2 separate regions of the Homo sapiens genome follow, and region 2 is linked to region 1. Evidence: promoter capture Hi-C in human tissues and cell types (Jung and others, 2019). All regions are on one chromosome and are shown on one strand. Each heading gives the region's core, a stretch centred on a gene start or on the middle of the fragment in contact. The rest is flanking DNA. Distances are from core to core; before and after follow the strand shown.

Region 1 (6,118 bases), core at 1-2,500:
AGAATTACTCCACAGCGAAGGCCAAATGACTTAAACAGAATTTCAATATATCCTTTCCTGAAAGGGATTACATCATTTCCTTTTACTTCCTCCTCTACGGTTATTTCTAAACAGGTTTCTCTACACAACCACAGAGTTCTGGGAACAAGATTCTGGTTTTCTTTACATTTAAAAATTCCCTTTCTGGTCAGTCTGAAGTTTTCCGTCTTCGTGAAAACCAAAGGTGGTATCTTCATGGAGTAACGTTTTAATTAGTTACATTTTAAAAAATGATGTTGGTGAACATAGTAAATGTATCTTTCCCGGAGGGCAGGGTCTTGCTGTCAGTGCTGAACACAAATCCTTGGAAAGAATTCGGCCTGGGCTATGCAATTTCGTATCAGTAGCCAGAGGGGCCTCCAGCGACCCAGAACCTCCCAGCACCTGCATACTTTCCTATATATGGTCATCTGCAATCAAGTATCCAAATCTTCCACCTGGTGACTCAAATACCAAGGGAATGATTCATATCTAGTCAATAGGATTCTGTTGCAAAGAAAACGGTTAGTCTTTTCAGGAAAAAGCAAACTTCTTGAACTTCCAACCCTCAATATGCAAATCCACTGTTTTCTACCTTCTAAAAAAAATAAGTAAAATAAAATAAATTGCCTATGTGAGGGGGAGAAGATGCTCACAGGATGGGTGCGATTCCAAGTCCACAGAGCAGACCTCTGAGCCAGCCCCGTCTGCCATGCCGGGGACCCGAGGAACCTTCCGACTCCCAGCTTTTTTCTGTCCCCTAGACCTTTAGGACTGGGGAGGCCGAGATGGCTAAGTGGATCCCTTACGCTGCTAGCTGTAATAAGCGAAGCTTTCAGGGAGCGAGGACAGCTGAGTATCAGCTTGGGCCCCACCAAGACCTGGGTGACCCACCCATGGCACGGCACTTTCCCCCCCGTGGGCCCAGTCTCCTCGACTCTGAAATGCAGGACTGAGGTCCCTCCAGCTCCCCACCCACGCAGCTGGGTTGGGGCCGGGCGCGGGCGCCAGCCGCCAGCCCTGCCCAGGGTCGAGCTGCACTCGCGGGGGAACTGGGCGAGGCGCCGCGACCTCCCCAAGCCACCCGTCAGCAGGCGGCTGTGGGCGAGGCTCGCGGGGACGCGCCGGGAGGCTGAACTTACCCAAAGCGCGGTGGGGGAAACTGGTGTGCGAGTAAACTGCGAACAAACTGCGAGCGAAGGTGTCAGCCGCGGGCGCAGGTGCTCCGCGCTGGCTCCGGGTCCGGATCGCGACCGCACCCCTTCCTCCTGCCCCTCCTCCGGCCTCTCGACTCCACCTGATTGCGGCCCCAGGCCCCGGGAAAGGGAAGCCGCGCCCTGCTGCCGCCGGGCTCTATCCCTGTACACAGGCGCCCCAGCTCTGCTCCCTCACCGGTCTCTAAGCTTCCCCACCCTTTTCTCCCTACGCCCTCATTTCGCTCTCGGTTTCCACTACACCTTTACTTTCTCAAATGTACTGCAATGCTTATTTTGTTCTAGGCAGTGTGGATTCGGAGATTAGACTGTCCCTATACCTAAGGAACTCACTGCGTGGCATAGGTGGCGGACACCTAACATTAATAACATTGATCTGGCATTTACTTTGTACCAGGCACTGTTCTAACTTCTTTAAGAATATGCGCGGATTTATTAGGTTGGTGCAAAAGTAATTGCGGTTTTTGCCATTAAAATGGCTCCGACAACAACTCTATGAGGTAGATACTATTATCCCCATTTTATAGATGAGGAAATTGAGATACAGAGACGTTGGGTAACTTCAGCCAATTTACACAGAAGGTAAATGCCAGAGCTAGTGTTTGGAACCCAACTATTTCAGTAATTCCTCTACTAAACGTGTTGACCCTCTGGTATGAGGATTCCAACCAAAGGCTCAGGGAGACGGTAACCTGGAAGGGCATTCTAGGCATTTGGAAGAGCAAAACAAATCATCGAGGCTAAAAGGTTAAAGCCCTACTCGTATGAGGGAATTATGAGCAGTTGTGTGCTGAAGGATGTAGAAAAAGTTACCATGTATTGAGTATCAGGCATTGAAGTGCTTGAATACCTTACCTCTTTTATCTTCAAGGGAACTCTAGGAGGTGCTATTTTTATCACAATTTGCAGAAGAGAAAACTGAGGCTTAGAAAAGTGAAGTGATTTATCCGAGACCACGTAAGTAAAAAGTATTGCTTGCACTCAGTCATCACTGGGCCCCTTATGTATTCACCCGAAGGATTTGAAAACTTACCTCCACAAACACCTGCACATGGATGTTTATAGTAGCTTTACTCCTAAGTATCAAAAGTCGGAAGCAACCAAGATGTAATTCGTAGGTGAATGGATAAATAAACTGTGATACATCTATACAATAGAATTTTATTCAGCACTGAAAAGAAATTAGCTATCAAGCTATAAAAACACATGGAAGAAACTTAAATGCATATTATTAAGAGAAAGAAGCCCATTTGAAAATGCTACACACTATGATTCCAACTATATGACATTCCAGAAAAGGCAACACTACGGAGACAGTAAAAAAAATCACTGGTTTCTAGGAGTTGAGAGGAGGTAGGGTGAACAGGTGGAGCACAGAGGATTTTTAGAGGATAAGCATGGCTGGAGCTGCTTGAGTGTGAGTTGAAGAGATTACAGTCTTGGTCCTTAAGGCTGAGTCCTGGGACCTAGAAACTCATTAGAAATGCAAATTCCCTGAAACCCTGCGCCATCAAGTGATTCTGATGCATCCTAAAGTTTGAGAACCACTGGTTTAAGAGGAGCTACAACGGAGAAGGCAGAAGTGGTCATGCTTAAAAGGCCAGTGCCCTGGGAGCCCTCTCAGATCTACAAATCCGAAGTGATGGGCTTTCTGCAAGAGAGAAGATAGGATGGTGTTCTGCATTCTGTTCTGCATAGTAATTCCTGACTCCCATTCAGACTTCACCACAATAAACTGTTAAATCCCATGTTACCTCAAAAAATTCTGAGATTAGCATGAAATGGGGGAAAATATTTATTATTATTTGTGCCAGACACTGGGTAATGCACTTGACGTACGTGATCTATGTCATGCTTACCAACTAGCTGTAAATTAGGTATGATTGCCTCTATTTTGCAGATACAGACACAGGCTCAGAGGGACTCAGTAAGTTCTACGAGTTGTATTCCAGGCAACTAGGAAGTCATAGGGCTAGATTTATAGCCAGAAGAAAATGAGTAACAGGTGATGTTTTACATGTAGGCTTTATTTTAATTGTTTAAACCATTCAGGATTTAACTTCTTTGATTTCCTGATGGTAACTTTAACAAATGCACTTTTATCATTTTTTGAGTTTTTCTAGTTGTATCAACAGCCCAATTACCACCATTTATATTAGAAACATGCTATGGCATATTATAAAACTATTTTTTCCCCAAAGGATGAGTTTTCTTGGAAGGAAATATTAGAGGATGCTGTTAGAATCCAGGTTTATGGTTATCCAGAAAAAGAATTCAGAAAAGGTTATTTAATAAAAGTTTCATTATTCTGAATACACAGAACTTTACAGGTTAGTAAAAAGGGAATTTTCCTATAGCATCCTGATCAAAAGAACAATTTAACAGCCAAATACAAATTTTTAAAGCAAAGTTATTGAGATATATTTAGAACATATGGTAAAATGTGAAGGAAAGACCGACTACGTGATTGTGGCTGTTGAATACATAGCTGCTGTTACAGTGATGTGTTGGAGCTGGGTTATACCAGCATGTGAAAGCCAGTTCCTGAATTTTCAGTTATTTCACAGCCAGTATTAATGTAGACATTATTACAAGTTAAATAAATACAATTGAATAAATTACGTTAAAAGCAAAGGTAATAGGTACTCAAAATTAACCACTTCCTAATTATTTCACATTTTATTATTATTTTTTTTATTATTTATTTATTTATTTATTTATTTATTTATTTATTTTTTAATTGATCATTCTTGGGTGTTTCTCGCAGAGGGGGATTTGGCAGGGTCACAGGACAATAGTGGAGGGAAGGTCAGCAGATAAACAAGTGAACAAAGGTCTCTGGTTTTCCTAGGCAGAGGACCCTGCGGCCTTCCGCAGTGTTTGTGTCCCTGGGTACTTGAGATTAGGGAGTGGTGATGACTCTTAAGGAGCATGCTGCCTTCAAGCCTCTGTTTAACAAAGCACATCTTGCACCGCCCTTAATCCATTCAAACCTGAGTGGACACAGCACATGTTTCAGAGAGCACAGGGTTGGGGGTAAGGTCACAGATCAACAGGATCCCAAGACAGAAGAATTTTTCTTAGTACAGAACAAAATGAAAAGTCTCCCATGTCTACTTCTTTCCACACAGACACGGCAACCATCCGATTTCTCAATCCTTTCCCCACCTTTCCCCCCTTTCTATTCCACAAAACCGCCATTGTCATCATGGCCCGTTCTCAATGAGCTGTTGGGTACACCTCCCAGACAGGGTGGTGGCTGGGCAGAGGGGCTCCTCACTTCCCAGTAAGGGCAGCCGGGCAGAGGCGCCCCTCACCTCCCTGACGGGGCGGCTGGCCGGGCAGGGGGCTGACCCCCCCACCTCCCTCCCAGATGGGGCGGCTGGCCGGGCAGAGGGGCTCCTCACTTCCCAGTAGGGGCGGCCGGGCAGAGGCACCCCTCACCTCCCGGACGGGGCGGCTGGCCGGGCGGGGGGCTGACCCCCCACCTCCCTCCCAGACAAGGCGGCTGGCCGGGTGGGGGGCTAACCCCCACCTCCCTCCGGGACGGGGTGGCTGGCCTGGTGGGGGCTGACCCCCCACCTCCCTCCCGGACGGGGTGGCTGCCGGGCGGAGACGCTCCTCACTTCCCAGACGGGGTGGCTGCCGGGCAGAGGGGGTCCTCACTTCTCAGACAGGGCGGCTGCCGGGCGGAGGGGCTCCTCACTGCTCAGACGGGGCGGTTGCCAGGCAGAGGGTCTCCTCACTTCTCAGACGGGGCGGCCGGGCAAAGACGCTCCTCACATCCCAAACGGGGCGGCAGGGCAGAGGCGCTCCCCACATCTCAGACCATGGGCTGCCGGGCAGAGACGCTCCTCACTTCCTAGACGGGATGGCGGCCCGGAAGAGGCGCTCCTCACTTCCTAGATGGGATGGCGGCCGGGCAGAGACGCTCCTCACTTTCCAGACTGGGCAGCCAGGCAGAGGGGCTCCTCACATCCCAGACGATGGGCGGCCAGGCAGAGACGCTCCTCACTTCCCAGACGGGGTGGCGGCCGGGCAGAGGCTGTAATCTCGGCACTTTGGGAGGCCAAGGCAGGCGGCTGGGAGGTGGAGGTTGTAGCGAGCCGAGATCACGCCACTGCACTCCAGCCTGGGCACCATTGAGCACTGAGTGAACCAGACACCGTCTGCAATCCCCGCACCTCGGGAGGCCGAGGCTGGCGGATCACTTGCGGTTAGGAGCTGGAGACTAGCCCGGCCAACACAGCGAAACCCCGTCTCCACCAAAAAAATACGAAAACTAGTCAGGCGTGGTGGCGCGCGCCTGCAATCGCAGGCACTCGGCAGGCTGAGGCAGGAGAATCAGGCAGGGAGGTTGCAGTGAGCCGAGATGGTAGCAGTACAGTCCAGCTTCGGCTCGGCATCAGAGGGAGACCGTGGAAAGAGAGGGAGAGGGAGACCGTGGGGAGAGGGAGGGGGAGGGGGAGGGGGAGAGGACATTTTATTATTAGTGATGCTTTCCAGGTTGTGTTTATTGCATCCATGTGGTGAAAATAGGGCATAAGCCGGGCGCAGTGGCTCACGCCTGTAATCCCAGCACTTTGGGAGGCCGAGGTGGGCAGATCACGAGGTCAGGAGATCAAGACATCCTGGCTAATACGGTGAAACCCTGTTTCCACTAAAAATACGAAAAATTAGCTGGATGTGGTGGCGGGCGCCTGTAGTCCCAGCTACTCAGGAGGCTGAGGCAGGAGAATGGCATGAACCCGGGAGGCGGAGCTTGCAGTGAGCCGAAATTGCGCCACTGCACTCCAGCCTGGGCGACAGAGCGAGACTCCATCTTAAAAAAAAAAAAAAAACCAAGAAAAACAGAAAGAAAAAATAATAATAATAATTTAGCCGGG
Region 2 (6,155 bases), core at 269-2,768, 46 kb after region 1:
TGTTCAACACCATATGAGGATTAATGGCCCCTGCCTGACACTGGCTGGCAGTAATAAAAATCTACGATCCAAAATACACTTCACCCTGGTTATGAGTTTTTTTGCTTAATTTTTCTTTCCCCCTTACATTTTGCATGAGCTCCTGTTTGGCTGTGAGGGCTTGCACATACAGATATCCTTCAAAGCTGTCTCCTGAGAAGTAGTGGCTCAAGGTTATCTACCAAGCCAGCCTCCACAAAGATGGTAACATGGAGGGTGAGTGACCTGGAACAGGTGAGGGTTCAAGCCTTCAAGACCCACTTTGGGTACCGTTCCAAGATGGCCGAATAGGAACAGCTCTGGTCTGCAGCTCCCAGCATGATTGACGCAGAAGACAGGTGATTTCTCCATTTCCAACTGAGGTACCTGGTTCATCTCACTGGGACTGGTTGGACATTGGTGCAGCCCATGGAGGGCAAGCTGAAGCAGGGAGGGGCGTCGCCTCACCCGAGAAGTGCAAGGGGTCGGGGGATTTCCTTTTCCTAGCCAAGGGAAGCCGTGACAGACTGTACCTGGAAAAATGGGACACGCCTGCCCAAATACTGCACTTTTCCCACAGTCTTAGCAACCAGCAGACCAGGGGATTCTCTCCCATGCCTGACTCGGGGGGTTCCATACCCATGGAGCTTTGCTCGCTGCTAGCGCAGCAGCCTGAGATCAACCCGCGAGGCTGTAGCCTGGCTGGGGGAGGGGTGTCTGCAATTGCTGAGGCTTAAGTAGGTAAACAAAGCGGCTGGGAAGCTCGAACTGGGGGGAGCCCACCACAGCTCAGGAAGGCCTACTGCCTCTATAGACTCCACCTCTGTGGGCAGGGCATAGCTGAACAAAAGCCAGCAGAAACTTCTGCAGACTTAAACGTCCCTGTCTGACAGCTCTGAAGAGAGCAGTTGTTCTCCCAGCATGGCATTTGAGCTCAGAGAACAGACAGACTGCCTCCTCAAGTGGGTCCCTGACCCCTGTGTAGCCTAACTGGGAGACATCTCCCAGTGGCAGCTGACGGACACCACATATAGGTGCATGCCTCTGGGATGAAGCTTCCAGAGGAAGGATCAGGCAGCAATATTTGCCGTTCTGCAATATTTGCTGTTCTACAGCCTCTGCTGGTGATACCCAGGCAAACAGGGTCTGGAGTGGACTTCCAGCAAACTCCAACAGACCTGCAGCTGAGGGATCTGACTATTAGAAGGAAAACTAACAAACAGAAAGGAATAGCAGCAACATCAACAAAAAGGACATTCACACCAAAACCCCATCTGTAGGTCACCAACAACAAAGACCAAAGGCAGATAAAACCACAAAGATGGGGATAAACCAGAACAGAAAAGCTGAAAATTCTAAAAACCAGAGTGTCTCTTCTCCTCCAAAGGATCGCAGCTCCTCACCAGCAACGGAACAAAGATGGATGGAGAATGACTTTGGCGAGTTGACAGAAGTAGGCTTCAGAAGGTCGGTAATAACAAACTTCTCCGAGCTAAAGGAGCACGTTCTAACCCATCACAAAGAAGCCAAAAACCTTGAAAAAAGGGTAGACGAATGGCTAACTAGAATAAACAGTGTCGAGAAGACTTTAAATGACCTGATTGAGCTGAAAACCATGGCACAAGAGCTTCGTGATACATGCACAAGCTTCAATAGGCAATTCAATCAAGTGGAAGAAAGGATATCAGTGATTGAAGATCAAATTAATGAAATAAAGCGAGAAGAGAAGTTTAGAGAAAAAAAGAATAAAAAGAAATGAATAAATCCTCCAAGAAATATAGGACTATGTGAAAAGACAAAATCTACATTTGATTGGTGTACCTGAAAATGATGGGGAAAATGGAACCAAGTTGGAAAACACTCTTCAGGATATTATCCAGGAGAACTTCCCCAACCTGGCAAGCAAGGCCAACATTCAAATTGAGGAAATACAGAGAACATCACAAAGGTACTCCTCAAGAAGAGCAACCCCAAAACACATAATTGTCAGATTCACCAAGGTGGAAATGAAGGAAAAAATGTTAAGGGCAGCCAGAGAGAAAGGTCGGATTACCCACAAAGGGAAGCCCATCATACTAACAGCAGATCTCCTGGCAGAAACCCTACAAGCCAGAAGAGAGTGGGGGACAATATTCAACATTCTTAAAGAAAAGAATTTTTCAAACCAGAATTTCATATCCAGCCAAACTAAGCTTCATAAGTGAAGGAGAAATAAAATCCTTTAGAGACAAGCAAATGCTGAGAGATTTTGTCACCACCAGGCCTGCCTTACAAGAGCTCCTGAAGGAAGCACTAAATATGGAAAGGAACAACCAGTACCATCCACTGCAAAAACATGCCAAATTGTAAAGACCATTGATGCTATGAAGAAACTGCATCAATTAATGGGCAAAATAACCAGCTAATATCATAATGACAGGATCAAATTCACACATAACAATATTAACCTTAAATGTAAATGGGCTAAATGACCCCAATTAAAAGACATAGACTGGCAAATTGGATAAAGAGTCAAGACCCATCATTGTGCTGTATTCAGGAGATCCATCTCACATGCAGAGACACACGTATGCTCAAAATAAAGGGATGGAGGAAGATCCACCAAGCAAATGGAAAGCAAAAGAAAAAAAGCAGGGGTTGCAATCCTAGTCTCTGATAAAACAGATTTTAAACCAACAAAGATCAAACGAGACAAAGAAGGCCATTACATAATGGTAAAGGGATCAATTCAACAAGAAGAGTTAATTATCCTAAATGTATATACACCCAATACAGGAGCATCCAGATTCATAAAGCAAGTCCTTAGAGACTACAAAGAGATTTAGATTCCCACACAATAATAATGGGAGACTTTAACACTCCACTGTCAGTCAATATTAGACAAATCAATGAGACAGAAGGTTGATAACGATATCCAGGACTTGAACTTAGCTCTGCAGCAAGCAGACCTAATAGACAGCTACAGAACTCTCCACCCAAAATCAACAGAATATACATTCTTCTCAGCACCACATCACATTTATTCTAAAATTGACCACATAATTGGAAGTAAAGTACTCCTCAGCAAATGGAAAAGAACAGAAATCACAACAAACTGTCTCTCAGACCACAGTGTAATCAAATTAACACTCGGGATTAACTAAACTCACCCAAAACTGCACAACTACATGGAAACTGAACAATCTGCTCCTGAATAACTACTGGGTACATAATGAAATTAAGGCAGAAATAAAGATGTTCTTTGAAACCAATGAGAACAAAGACACAATGTACCAGAATCTCTGGGACACATTTAAAGCAGTGTGTAGAGGGAAATTTATAGCATTAAATGCTCACAAGAGAAAGCAGGAGAGATCTAAAATTGACACCCTAACATCACAGTTAAAAGGATTAGAGAAGCAAGAGCAAACAAATTCACAAGCCATCAAAAGGCAAGAAATAACTAAGATCAGAATAGAACTGGAGGAGATAGAGACACAAAAAACCCTTCAAACAAATAAAGGAATCCAGAAGCTGGTTTTTTGAAAAGATCAACAAAATTGATTGACCACTAGCAAAACTAATAAAGAAGAAATGAGAGGAGAATCAAATAGATGCAATAAAAAATGATAAAGGGGATCTCACCACCGATCCCACAGAAATACAAACTACCATCAGAGAATACTATAAACACCTCTATGCAAATAAACTAGAAAACTTAGAAGAAATGAATAAATTCCTGGACACATACACCCTCCCAAGACTAAACCAGGAAGAAGTTGAATCTCTGAACAGACCAATAACAGGCTCTGAAATTGAGGCAATAATTAATAGCCTAACAACCAAAAAAAGTCCAGGACCAGACGGATTCACAGCCAAATTCTATCAGAGGTACAAAGAAGAGCTGGTACCATTCCTTCTGAAAATATTCAACAATAGAAAAAGAGGTAATTCTCCCTAACTCATTTTATGAAGCCGGAATCATCCTGATGCCAAAGCCTGGCAGAGACACAACAAGAAAAGAGATTTTTAGACCAATATCCCTGATGACCATCAATGCGAAAATCCTCAATAAAATACTGGTGAATCGAATCCAGCAGCACATCAAAAAGCTTATCCACCACGATCATGTTGGCTTCATCCCTGGGATGCAAGGTTGGTTCAACATATGCAAATCAATAAAGGTAATCCATCACATAAACAGAACCAGTGACAAAAACCACATGATTATCTCAATAGATGCAGAAAAGGCCTTTGACAAAATTCAACAGCTCTTCATGCTAAAAACTCTCAATAAACTAGGTATTGATGGAATGTATCTCAAAATAATAAGAGCTATTTATGACAAACCCATAGCAAATATCATATTGAATGGGCAAAAGCTGGAAGCATTCCCTTTGAAAACTGGCACAGGACAAGGATGCCCTCTCTCACCACTCCTATTCAACACAGTATTGGAAGTTCTGGCCAGGGCAATCAGGCAAGAGAAAGAAATAAAGGGTATTCAATTAGGAAAAGAGGAAGTCAAATTGCCCCTGTTTGCAGATGACATGATTGTATATTTAGAAAACCCCATCATCTCAGCCCAAAATCTCCCTAAGCTGATAAGCAACTTCAGAAAGTTTCAGGACACAAAATCAATGTGCAAAAATCACAAGCATTCCTATACAACTATAATAAACAGAGAACCAAATCATGAGTGAACTCCCATTCACAATTGCTACAAAGAGAATAAAATACCTAGGAATCCAACTTACAAGGGACATGAAGGACCTCTTCAAGGAGAACTACAAACCCCTGTTTAATGAAATAAAGGAGGACACAAACAAATGGAAGAACATTCCACGCTTACGGAGAGGAAGAATCAATATCGTGAAAATGGCCATACTGCCCAAGGTAATTTATAGATACAATGCCATCCCGATCAAGCTACCAATGACTTTCTTCACAGAATTGGAAAAAAACTACTTTAAATTTCATATGGAGCCAAAAAAGAGCCCTCATTGCCAAGACAGTCCTAAGCAAAAAGAACAAAGCTGGAGGCATCACAATACCTGACTTCAAACTATACTACATGGCTACAGTAACCAAAACAGCATGGTACTGGTACCAAAAGAGATATGTAGACCCATGGAACGGAACAGAGGCCTCAGAAATAACACCACACATTTACAACCATCTGATCTTTGACAAACCTGACAAAAGCAATGGGGAAATAATTCCCTACTTAATAAATGGTGCTGAGAAAACTGGCTAGCCATATATACAAAGCTGAAACTGGATCCCTTCCTTACACTTTTTACAAAAATTAATTCAAGGTGGATTAAAGACTTAAATGTTAGACCTAAAACTATAGAAACCCTAGAAGAAGACCTAGGCAATACCATTCAGGACATAGGCATGGGTAACGACTTCATGACTAAAACACTAAAAGCAATGGCAACAAAAGCCAAAATAGACAAATGGGATCTAATTAATTCCATCGGTCATCAGAGAAATGCAAATTGAAACCACAATGAGATACCGTCTCATGCCAGTTAGACTGGCGATCATTAAAAAGTCAGGACACAACAGATTCTGGAGAGGATGTGGAGAAATAGGACCGCTTTTATGCTGTTGGTGGGAGTGTAAAAAGTTCAACCATTGTGAAAGACAGTGTGGCAATTCCTCAAGGATCTAGAACCAGAAATACCATTTGACCCAGCAATCTCATTACTGGGTAGATGCCCAAAAAATTATAAATCATGCTACTATAAAGACACATGCACACATATGTTTACTGCGGCACTATTAACAATAGCAAAGACTTGGAACCAACCCAAATGGCCGTCAATAATAGACTGGATTAAGAAAATGTGGCACATATATACCATGGAATGCTATGTAGCCATAAAAAAGGATGAGTTCTTGTCATTTGCAGGGACATGGATGAAGCTGGAAACCATCATTCTCAGCAAACTATCACAAGGACAGAAAACCAAACATTGCACGTCCTCACTCATAGGTGGGAACTGAACAATGAGAACACTTGGACACAGGGCAGGGAACATCACACAATGGGGCCTGTTGGAGGATGAAGGGCTGGGGGAGGGATAGCACTGGGAGGAATACCTAATGTAAATGACGAGTTAATGGGTGCAGCAAACCAACATGGCACA

Evidence for each region. Contacts are between HindIII fragments. The study calls those that stand out against the background at their distance.
Region 2: a fragment that was not itself captured here is called in contact with the fragment with the promoter of ANXA3 in region 1 in 1 of the 25 tissues and cell types used here (aorta).

The regions. Positions count from the first base shown.
Region 1 is chr4:78,546,902-78,553,019 of GRCh38, reverse strand. It overlaps ANXA3 (annexin A3), which reads right to left and starts at 1,250. Exons shown (of 13, transcript NM_005139.3): 1 at 1,161-1,250. RefSeq lists enhancers at 1-830, 134-885. The HindIII fragment of the contact is 13,286 bases long and covers 1,137-6,118 here.
Region 2 is chr4:78,501,041-78,507,195 of GRCh38, reverse strand. All of the region lies in intron 61 of FRAS1 (Fraser extracellular matrix complex subunit 1), which reads right to left. Among named protein-coding and RNA genes, the nearest start is that of ANXA3, 48 kb to the left of the region's middle. RefSeq lists a silencer at 567-861. The HindIII fragment of the contact is 3,284 bases long and covers 1-3,160 here.